Linked DNA regions of Homo sapiens: all the other regions are linked to region 1. The links are contacts of gene promoters, found by promoter capture Hi-C in blood cells and fetal thymus (Javierre and others, 2016). All regions are on one chromosome and are shown on one strand. The core of a region is centred on a gene start or on the middle of the fragment in contact, and the rest is flanking DNA. Distances in the headings are between cores, read along the strand shown.

What was found. The method cuts DNA at HindIII sites, captures the fragments that hold promoters and counts their contacts. A CHiCAGO score of 5 or more calls a contact.
Region 2: a contact is called between a fragment that was not itself captured here and the fragment with the promoter of IGSF9 in region 1, in 4 of 17 cell types (megakaryocytes, neutrophils, erythroblasts and 1 more). The highest score is 7.0, in megakaryocytes.
Region 3: a contact is called between a fragment that was not itself captured here and the fragment with the promoter of IGSF9 in region 1, in 3 of 17 cell types (M2 macrophages, megakaryocytes and endothelial precursors). The highest score is 7.6, in M2 macrophages.

What each region holds. Positions count from the first base shown.
Region 1 is chr1:159,944,360-159,947,658 of GRCh38, reverse strand. IGSF9 (immunoglobulin superfamily member 9) reads left to right here and starts at 2,046. Exons shown (of 21, transcript NM_001135050.2): 1 at 2,046-2,086. LOC124904438 (a long non-coding RNA gene) reads right to left here. Exons shown (of 3, transcript XR_007066684.1): 2 at 1,207-1,507. RefSeq lists an enhancer at 1,423-1,923 and a silencer at 1,766-2,060. The HindIII fragment of the contact is 10,806 bases long and covers 1,142-3,299 here.
Region 2 is chr1:159,223,622-159,226,607 of GRCh38, reverse strand. No RefSeq gene overlaps it. Among named protein-coding and RNA genes, the nearest start is that of ACKR1, 20 kb to the right of the region's middle. The HindIII fragment of the contact is 1,523 bases long and covers 570-2,092 here.
Region 3 is chr1:159,179,254-159,182,676 of GRCh38, reverse strand. The region is part of intron 1 of CADM3 (cell adhesion molecule 3); the gene reads right to left. Among named protein-coding and RNA genes, the nearest start is that of CADM3, 9.4 kb to the right of the region's middle. The HindIII fragment of the contact is 4,108 bases long and covers 1-3,423 here.

The DNA.
Region 1 (3,299 bases), core at 797-3,296:
AACCACTGGAGACAGCAGTTTAGATCAAAGGTGTGGCCAATTCTAACAGCGGGGAGGGAGATCCTTCCCAATGATTGGTAAAGATCCAAAGACTAAAAAACACTTGGCTCGGCCGGGGGCAGTGGCTCACACCTGTAATCCCAGCATTTTGGGAGGCCGAGGTGGGTGGATCATGAGGTCAGGAGTTCAAGACCAGCCTGGTCAAGATGGTGAAACCCCATCTCTACTAAAAATACAAAAATTAGCCAGGCATGGTGGTGGCCGCCTGTAATCACAGCTGCTTGGGAGGCTGAAGCAGGAGAATCGCTTGAACCCGGGAGGTGGAGGTTGCAGTGAGCCGAGATTGCACCACTGCACTCCAGCCTGGGCGATAGAGTGAGACTCTGTCAAAACAAAAAAACAAACAAACAAAAAACCCGCTTCACTCTTTTACCATTTCTTCTAGCCTTGCTTCCATGCTGCATTCATTAACATGTTTCCATTATAGTCTTATCAATAGATCAGGGTATTATGTTGAAATGCATTGTTGAAAAGCTGCTACTTTGGGACTATTTGCAGGAGGGATGGTGGGAGAGACTGGCCCACTGCTCCTGCCTCTTCCCTTCCATCTCAGTCACCCAAAAGCACTAAAACCTTTACACCTGGAAGAACTGTCCAGCAGGCAGAGCTTACTAAGGATGGAATGGGTACAACAGTAGTGCTGAGCTTCCTGGCCCAGGATGTAATGAGATAGGGGCTTGGATGACTACATGGAGAAATGATGTGCCAGGGATTCTGGGGCCAAGTAGTGCTTAGGCCCATCCTGGAGGTTCTCTCATGATGCTGCAGCAGTGATTCTGTGAGTCTGATGCCTGGTGCACTCAGTTTGAGTCTTAGTACTTCGGATTGGGATGAGATCAGCACGTTGCTTTCATGGAAGGCTTCCAAGGGAGCCAACTGAATGGGAAGGACCTGGACAGGCAATGTTGCTTAAGCCGACCCAGCATCCCTACAGCATCACCAGGCTGAGGAGGTGGAATCTCTGAGGGGCAAGATATGCAAGATATCTTTGTGTCTGAGGGCGAAGCCTCCAAGGGAGTAGGTTTGATGAAGTTTGGGTTGGGTCTCAATCCAGCTCTGCCATAACCTAGTTGGGAAAGCTTGGGCCAAGTTACTTCATCTCCCTGAGCCTCAGTTTTCTCATTAGTCAAAGGGAGCTCTACTTACTTCGCAGGGTTTCTGTGAAGGTTACACAAGAGTTATAAAGCATCTAGTCCAGGGTCTGGCACCCTGCATGGGTCCAGTAAGTGATCTTGTATTTCATTCCTCCCTTTCAATCTCCCGTGTCAGGATATCTGTCGTTTCTCCCCTCTGGGCCTGTTTCTCTGGGTCGTTGGTGCCAGAGCTGCCTTGGGAGCTGACTTGGCAACCCCACGCTCAGAGCACAGCCTTCCTCAGCTGCACACGGTGGGAGGCGCCTGGGCAAGATTTGGGAGCTCGCCAATGCAGACAGGTATTTCCAGTCCTGCTAGAGAAGCAATGGGTGGAGGTAGAAATGGGGATGGGGGAGGAGATCGGATGAGCCCGGGACCTGGGTGGATCCCCTGGGAGGAGGGCGGGGAGTCATGCTCCCCGCCTGGTTCTCCTACCCCCAGGCTCAGATTTCAACCCTCGCTGCCGCCTCTGTGGCGCGCCCGTTCGGGGAGCGGAGAGGGTCGCCCGTAGGTTCCGAAAGAAGGACGGCGTACCAGTAGCCTGGCAAGGGGCCAGCTCCCGCAGCCCTGGAGCGCGAGCCGGACCCTGCTGCCCCTCTTGCTGGCGGCGGGAAGCGGCCCACCGGCCTTTCCACGCTTGGCTGTGCAGAGGTCCACGAGGGGGCGACCTGAGCCCACGTGCAGCCGAGCTCTTCCCTCCTGAAACTACAACTCCCAGGCCGCTCAGGGGTCCCGCCCGCCTCGCCGTGCCTCTGGCGGCTCCAATTGGCCGCCGCGGGAGGGGGATTGGCGGTCTCCAGGGCGACGGGAGGCGCTCGGGGCATCCGAGGCGGGGAGGCGGGTCCGCCCCCTATTGTGTAGCGGCGAGAGTGGAGCCGAGCGGTGCGGAGCAGGTGAGGGAGGGGGCGTACTGGAGGTATAGAAGTGGTGGTGCTGGTAGTGCGGAGTTATGGGGGACAGGAGAAAGCGGGGAGTTCTAGAGAGAAGTGGAATTCGTTGCAGGAGTAGAACTAGGGGAGTTCTGGGGAGTGAAGTGGAATTCTTGGCGGGTGGGTGGGAGTTCCCGGAGAACTGCAGGAGTTCTGGAGGCAATGTGGGGGAGTTCTTGGTGGGTTCTAAGAGAAAGGAGGAGTTCCAGGGGACCAGAGAATGCGAGGGAGAAAGGAATTGTTGGGGGTGGGGTATCAGAATTGTATTGTGGGCTGATGCAGGAGAATCCCAGGGAGGGGAATTATCGGGAGGAGAGGATGGGGAGAAGTGGCTGGGGGGTGGGGAGACCAGAAGGGAGTTCTTTATAGTGCAGGAGACCTGCTGCAATTGGAGATCAGGTGCGAGAAGCTGGAATTGTGGGGGGATTGTGCGTAGTAGCGATAACTGGGAAGGGAGTAATGGGAGGACGAGGGAGTGGTGTGTGGGGAGACTAGAAGGGTGAGGAAATAGTGGAGGCCGGGGGAGTTGGAAAGATATTAAGAGACTGGGAGGAATTCTAGGGATGCCTAGTTACTCAGAGTCTCGGAAAACAACCAGGAGAGAACTAGGGGGTTCCTATATACTTGGAAAAAGGTTTTTCAGGGAAGTGTGGGAGAGCTGCCTGGAGGCAGTGGGAAACAGGGGGCTTGGTTGCTAGTGAATTGCCAGAAGTTAGACATACAGGATCATTAAGTAGAGGCAAGGATCAGACTCTGTGGAGGATGTTTTATAGTCTGTCCTGAACTTTGCGGCCAAGAGTGGGTTGGAGGACTCAGAGCAGAGTCCACTTGGCAGTGCCAGGCCCTGGCATGGACCCTCTGGCTCTCTGAGACTGCCCTAGGATCTGTGGGGCTGTCAGAAGCTCCTACCCTCCATGCCCCAGGGTTAATTTTGTACACTTCAGGGACTCACAGGCTTTTTTTTGGACCATGCCTCTGGGGTTGGGGAAGAAAGAGCTTGACAAACCCTGGCACCCCGAAGATATTGGAGGGGAGTGAGTGGGAGGGATTTGGGTGAGGTCCTTGGGTGGTGGTGCCTGGCAGGGGGAGGGCTGCTTGGCAGTATCGTGAGGAAGTGGCGCCAGCTGCCAGCCCCGGGACCTGTCCAGACCTGGAGGATGCTGCCTGGATCCCCCAT
Region 2 (2,986 bases), core at 82-2,581, 720 kb after region 1:
ATCATTCACTTCCCAGCACACACTATGGCTTCCTACATAAACATCTTATTTACTCTGCTACACTCTTCACTCCTTGAGTGAACTGTTGATGTCTTATTCAGTTTGCACCTGGTTATGCACTCTATAAGTATCTGCTGATTGAAGAGAAGAATGAATGAGTGTATACTTGAAGTATTTAGGATCAAGCCCCTGCAGAGAGACATAATTGAATTCAACTCAAGTAAATTTTGAATGATGAAATGTACCTGGCACTATACCATATATACCATTATAGGAGACCCAAAACATATGTCATAGTCTCTTAAGCTTTTTTGGACAGGCAAGACTTATACTCATGAAGAAATTATACCTGCGGGGGGAAAATGGAAATGAGGTAAGAGAGTACTGGCAGTCCTCAAATTAGAATGTTCTTCCAAAAATTCATTTAAGTTGGTTGTTTGAAGTTTGGAGTAACTCTATCTATGAAAACATTGTCATCAGCTTTATAATATGTTTCCAATATTGGTCCACAATATTTTGCCAGAAAAGTCAAAGATGGGAAGGACTTTAGAATTTATCTACTCAAAGCTTCTCATTTTATAGAAGAGACAGTATGACTTTCCTAAGATCACACAGTGAGTAAGCTGAAACTAGAATTCTCATTTTAGCAACACTCAGTAGTAGTAATAGAAAAGCAATCATCACGACAGGGAACTGTACTTGTGTAAATATTTATCAAATGTCCATTATGTGGCAGACTGTGCAAATGCCTTTTTACCCAAAGCACCATCCTTGACGATCCTCTCCTTCCTCTGCCCTCTTTGATTTACATTCTGCTGATTTTACTACTTCTATATTCCTCTGATCCATCCTCTTCTCCCCAACTCTACCATCACTTTTTTAGTTAAGGTCACTTCCTCTCTTATCTGGCCAATTACAGCAGCTTCCCAGTTTGCTCTCCCAAGTCCTTTGTCTCTAGAACCTCCAAAGTGATCTATGTATGACATTTAAGAAACAAACTATATCATTACATTTCTCTGCTTAGAACTTTCATATGAGTCCACTTTGCCTACCAGATGAAATGCAGGCTCCCTAACTTGTTCTACAAAGTTCTCCATTGTCTACTGCCTGTGCGCCTCCCCTGTCACTCCCCGCCTCCCACTTCAAGCAATGACAATACAGACCTGCTTGCCATTCTCTGCTCGACCATGATATTTTTCCTCCCTCTTCTAGCTCACATTCTCACCTCTCTCTGAAGTGCCCACCTCCGTTCTCAGCTCACCTGCCTAGGTCCTATTTGTCCTTTGGTAACAGAGGTATCCACTTCCCTCTGTCTCTATGTTGCTTCAGTCTGGCTCCTGAGAAGAGGTTTTTTTAGCTCTTTATTCACTAGATGGTGATAGAAAAGAACTCAAAACAATTTTTCCACTACCCTATTAGGTGACCAGGGATTTTCTAAAATCTTAGTATGTCCAGGAGCATTACTTGAGTGAGTCAAATCAGAGAATCCATGATATAACTGGACCCATTGCATTGACTGAAGAATTGATACGTATCTGAGGCAGAGATCGGACTGCATGTGATAACTGTGTCCCTAGAGAACAGGAATGGTCAGAGCTTGAGATGTTGACTGGCCAGCTGCCCTTCTAGGAAGATTGTCCCTAGAAGCCACTGCTGGAATGATCCTCTAGTGTAGGCACTGCTTCCAAGCAGCCTGCTCTCTTGTCCACCAACCTTTACCTCTTATGGTCCAGTGTCCTGCCTAGCTCTTTAAATGGCTTCTTCAGGGACTCATGACCCTAACAGCTTTTTTTTCTCCTGTGTTCCCCTGAGATCCTCTCAGACTTCTCCCAACAAGAACTGAGTCCAGCCTCCTTACATAATAGGGGTGTTGGTCTACTGGGAACCAGATATTTGCCCCAAAGCCTATTTACATGTGATTGCATAGGCCAACCACAGCTACCTAGCAATTTCCCGTCCAGCCTTTAAACCCAAAGGCTGATCATGTTCCCAGTAAGCGGAAATAAGGGTTCATTTTGCACCAAAATGATATTTCTCCAATAAAAATGAAATTGGATGACATTCATTTACAACAGGGTGTTCTTATGAAGCTTTAAGACTTAGTTCAGCATCACTGCTGACATGAAGCCACTCTGACAAGCAGGTCTTCCCCCACTCCTCTCTGTCTGGGCTGAGTGCCTTCACTCTGTGCCTTGTAATAAGCAGACCAATATCTCCATCACTGTGCTGACCACATTGTGTTGCAATGATCTGTTTATACACCTGTTTCCACCATATCTGTGAGCTTTTTGATAGCAGGGGAGATCTTATTCATCTTTACATTTTTTATCCTAACAACAGTGTCTGACACAAAGTAGATGCTCAATAAGTAATTGTCTTACTGTATTTCACTGACTTCCTTTGATAGCTGGAGTAAATCAGAGAGCTGACCTCTTCCCTCAGGAAAGTTATATACAATTTAACCTTGTTATTAGTATGGCAAAGAGCCATCCTTTTCTGAGGGTTCTTTTCTGATGCCTCCTAGGAAGGTGCCTCCTAGATGAGGCACCAAGAATTACTATGCAGATGAACGATACATAGAAATGTGTCTAGCAGGCCGGGTGCAGTGGCTCACGCCTGTAATCCCAGCACTTTGGGAGGCCAAGGCGGATGGATCACCTGAGGTCAAGAGTTTGAGACCAGCCTGGCCAACACGGTGAAACCCCATCTCTACTAAAAATACAAAAGATTAGCCTGGCATGGTGGTGCATGCCTGTAGTCCCAGCTACTCGGGAGGCTGAGGCAGGAGAATCTCTTGAACCTGGGAGGTGGAGGTTGCAGTGAGCCAAAATCACACCATTGCACTCCAGCCTGGGCGACAGAGTGAGACTCCATCTCAAAAATAAATAAACAAACAAACAAATAAATAAATAAATAAGAAGGAAAGAAAAGAAAAAGAAATATGTCTAGCACACCAACAACAAACAGCTCAGACTGGCTGAATGGC
Region 3 (3,423 bases), core at 545-3,044, 760 kb after region 1:
ACTCTCTATTGTCCAAGTTCAGTAATTCCTTTTTTCTTTCTGTTGCACCTAATTCTGCCCAAAATATTCTCCCCTCTATGATTCTTAGAAGTGTAGATTTTTATAGTTGACAAGATATTAAGTATCATCTGGTCCAATCCTCTTATTTTAAAGATGAGGAACCAAGGCTCAGAGAGGTTTAGGAACTTGAGCATGGTCACACAGGCAGTGAGTGAGACCTGTACTCATTGATAGTTTATAGCAGTCCTTGTGGACTGGCTAATTCAGTGGTTAATTTGACACTAAGTGTCAAATATTTCCGCTGACACCCACTCTTCCTATGCCTCATCTCCTGTGCATGATACTGAGGAACTCCAGGACCGTGGACCTTAAGAGAAGTAAGTCTACTAAATGCCCAGTAGGTTGGAGAAGTTTGGTTATGATGAAGAGGGAGTCCCTGAAGATGGGGCGGATGGCATCTTCTTACACTTCAGGGCTTTACCGGCAGGTTCCAGTTCACACAGAAGAAGAGGCCATTGGGCAGAAGTCACTGCCATGCCCTTTGGAGCTAAAAAGGGTGACTGTGAGGACAGGTGGCATGTGTGTGTGCGTGTGTGTGTGTGTGTGTGTGTGTGTGTGTCTGTCTGTGTGCTTGCTGGCATCTGCAAGGTGAAGAGCTGAGGGAATGCTAACCTGATTGTGAAGCAGGAGACAGGGGCCAGAAGAGAAGAGAAGAAAAAAAGCAGAGGAACATGTCCTATTCTTGAGCTGGAGAGAGAAAAAATCTGGAGGCAGAAGTGGGCTTGTGGTAGGCTGAGGGGGGCCTTCAGAGACTTAGTTAAGATTCCGAGGAGCAGAGACTGGGAAGTGGGTGGCAGGGAAGGAGGTGGGGACAGCTGTTGCTTTGATTTGCTATTGAGTCAGTGTTCTTGGTGCATTAGCACCAGGAGGGAGCCCTGGGCTGGCCCCCAACCAAAACAAGCCCCTCTGTAGCCAATACTGAGTTGTAGCAAGGAGAACTGCAGTTGAGAGACAAAAAGGGAGGGGATTTGATCCCGAAAGAGTCTCTTCCTTGCCTTAGCTGCTTCCTTCTGGGACTGGGCTGTGTGCTCTAGACAAGCATCTAGTGTTCTGCCTGAAGAGGATGAGAGGGTGAGGTGAAACTGAGCACGGGGGAGGGCTCAGTGAGGACCTCTAGAGCACAGATTCTGTGCAGGTACTGACTGTCTTCAGTTGTTTTGGAGTAGGCCCCTGAAGACAGGATGATAACAGCCCTGAGCCATTTTAGGAGTGTCTGTTTATCCCATCTCCTCATTCCCTTCTCACTATGATCAAACACTTTAGACATACGGACAGGTATGACTTGAAATCTGCATTCTAATGCAATACAGTCAGGAGGCCAGACTTTGAACTCTTAGTTGTCCTCTTAAACTAAGTAGAGGGATTTTATACCCTTTCCCCCAATTTATCTTGCTGTTTTCACACATATGTAATAAAACTGGGGGGAAAAAGTTCCTCATCTTAGGAAAGTACTTGAGAAAGGAAACATAACAGAGTCAAACGCAGAATTCAATTTAGCTCATTGGAAGGGTATGGGAAAATAGAGACTGGGAATGGGCCAGAAATCCCAGAAAATCAGAAGTAAAGAATATATTCTCTGGAGATGAAAAATCTCAGCCCAGGTTCCAACAACTTGCTCATACTCTGCACTACCCATCCCAGTGCCCCAATACCTGTCTGAGGGCATGGATGAATTCCCTTTCTCAGTGGGCTCTGTCTTATTCTCCTATGCTCCTTATGTTGCACTTTAGATATTACAGGCTGATGGCTTGGTGTGGTGGGATAACAATGCTGTGGAAAAGTTTAATTTGTTAGAAGTCAAGCAAGAAAGCACTCATCTCTGCTGGTTCTGATTTTCCTGACTTGTTTTTACTGTTTCCCTTCACTGGATGATCAGAGTCTGGGTGTGGATGACAGGTTCAGGGCAATGGTTAGGAGCATTACATGAAGAAAAATGTGTTCTGCTCTACACACCCACACTACTCTAGTTTCACTGATTCCCCCAATCCTAACTGCTATTTAGTCTCCCTGCACTCTTCTCACTTAAAAAAAAAAAAATCTGTATTTTTAAAATTGCGGTACATTGTTCGCATTAGCCTCACTTTGTGAGAATTTCACTCTTCTGTGAAATAGATACATTCTCCCAAGTCCACAGATCTCACAGTCCCCGAAATGGAAAATAATATTGTTCTGACATAAAGAACTCTTATCTCTCTTCTTAAATCTCCATTGAGTGTCTCTTATTTGATGGGGGCAAACACACATTTTTGTTCCCTAAGATAGATGCATATTTTGACATGTGCCCCTCAATACACACACACAAGACACTCTGATTCTCACTAATCATATTTCTGGGGTTTTTTTCTGACATGAACACACAGATTTTATTATGACCCAGATACAGAGCCCTTTTCACATGCCCATATTAATCAGAACCCCTTACTTCCAGAATACCATATGGCTTAAACTCAGAGATTCTCCCCAAAGCAGAATTCAGGCTCTCTCTTCTGCTCAAACTCCCCAGGAGAGGGCCAGAATCCTCTCCTCTCCAGGGTTGAGGCTCAGTCCATCTGTCACTGACATTGGACTCCAGGGCTTGGAAACCAGAAAAGAGTTGGCATTAAGTGGCAATTGAGGATAAATCAAAATATGGGAGGCTCAGGGGCTTAGTGGTGGTAATTTTTATATTTGTGTGAGATTAGCAGATAGAAGTTATGGGAAGAAACATATAATATGTATTTGGAAAGATCTCATCCTTAAGAACTACAGCAAGAACTAGTGAGTGCAATTGTTTCACTGTAATTTTTGCATTTGCTGGGCAAAAAAAAAATGATTAGGAGCAGATGGTAAAACTGGCTTCTCATTTTATAATAACTCAAGAACTCAGCTCCAGGCTCTTCAGACTGACTGACTGCTATGCTAAGTTCCAAGTTACCTCTCATTGATATACTTACTGAAATCAGAATTGGAAGCAAAGCGCCAGGTCATAGAAGGGTAAAAGTAAAATATGAAACAAGAATCTGCATATTTCCAATAAAATCTGTTGTCAGAAGTACTAGTTCTTCATCCTACCTTGCCAGTATTTGGGAGTATATGAAGAAAGGGGAGAAATGAATAATGGCTAGCCTACAGATGAGTGCCTGAGACATCAGCCTTCATTACTTTTTCTTTTTTCTCTCTAGAGCAAGGTGATGCACCTGACCTTCTTGACCCTGAACTAGAAGTAAATGAGCCAAAGGTGCTTATAATTAGCAATCAATACACAGTTAGTGTAAGTCTAGCTGGGGAAAGGGAAAATAAATCCTTAGAGAAGACAACATTTTAGTTTGTTCTTTAAGTTATTTAGCTTTCTTATTGTTCTCTTGGAGACTTCCAAGAGAAAGA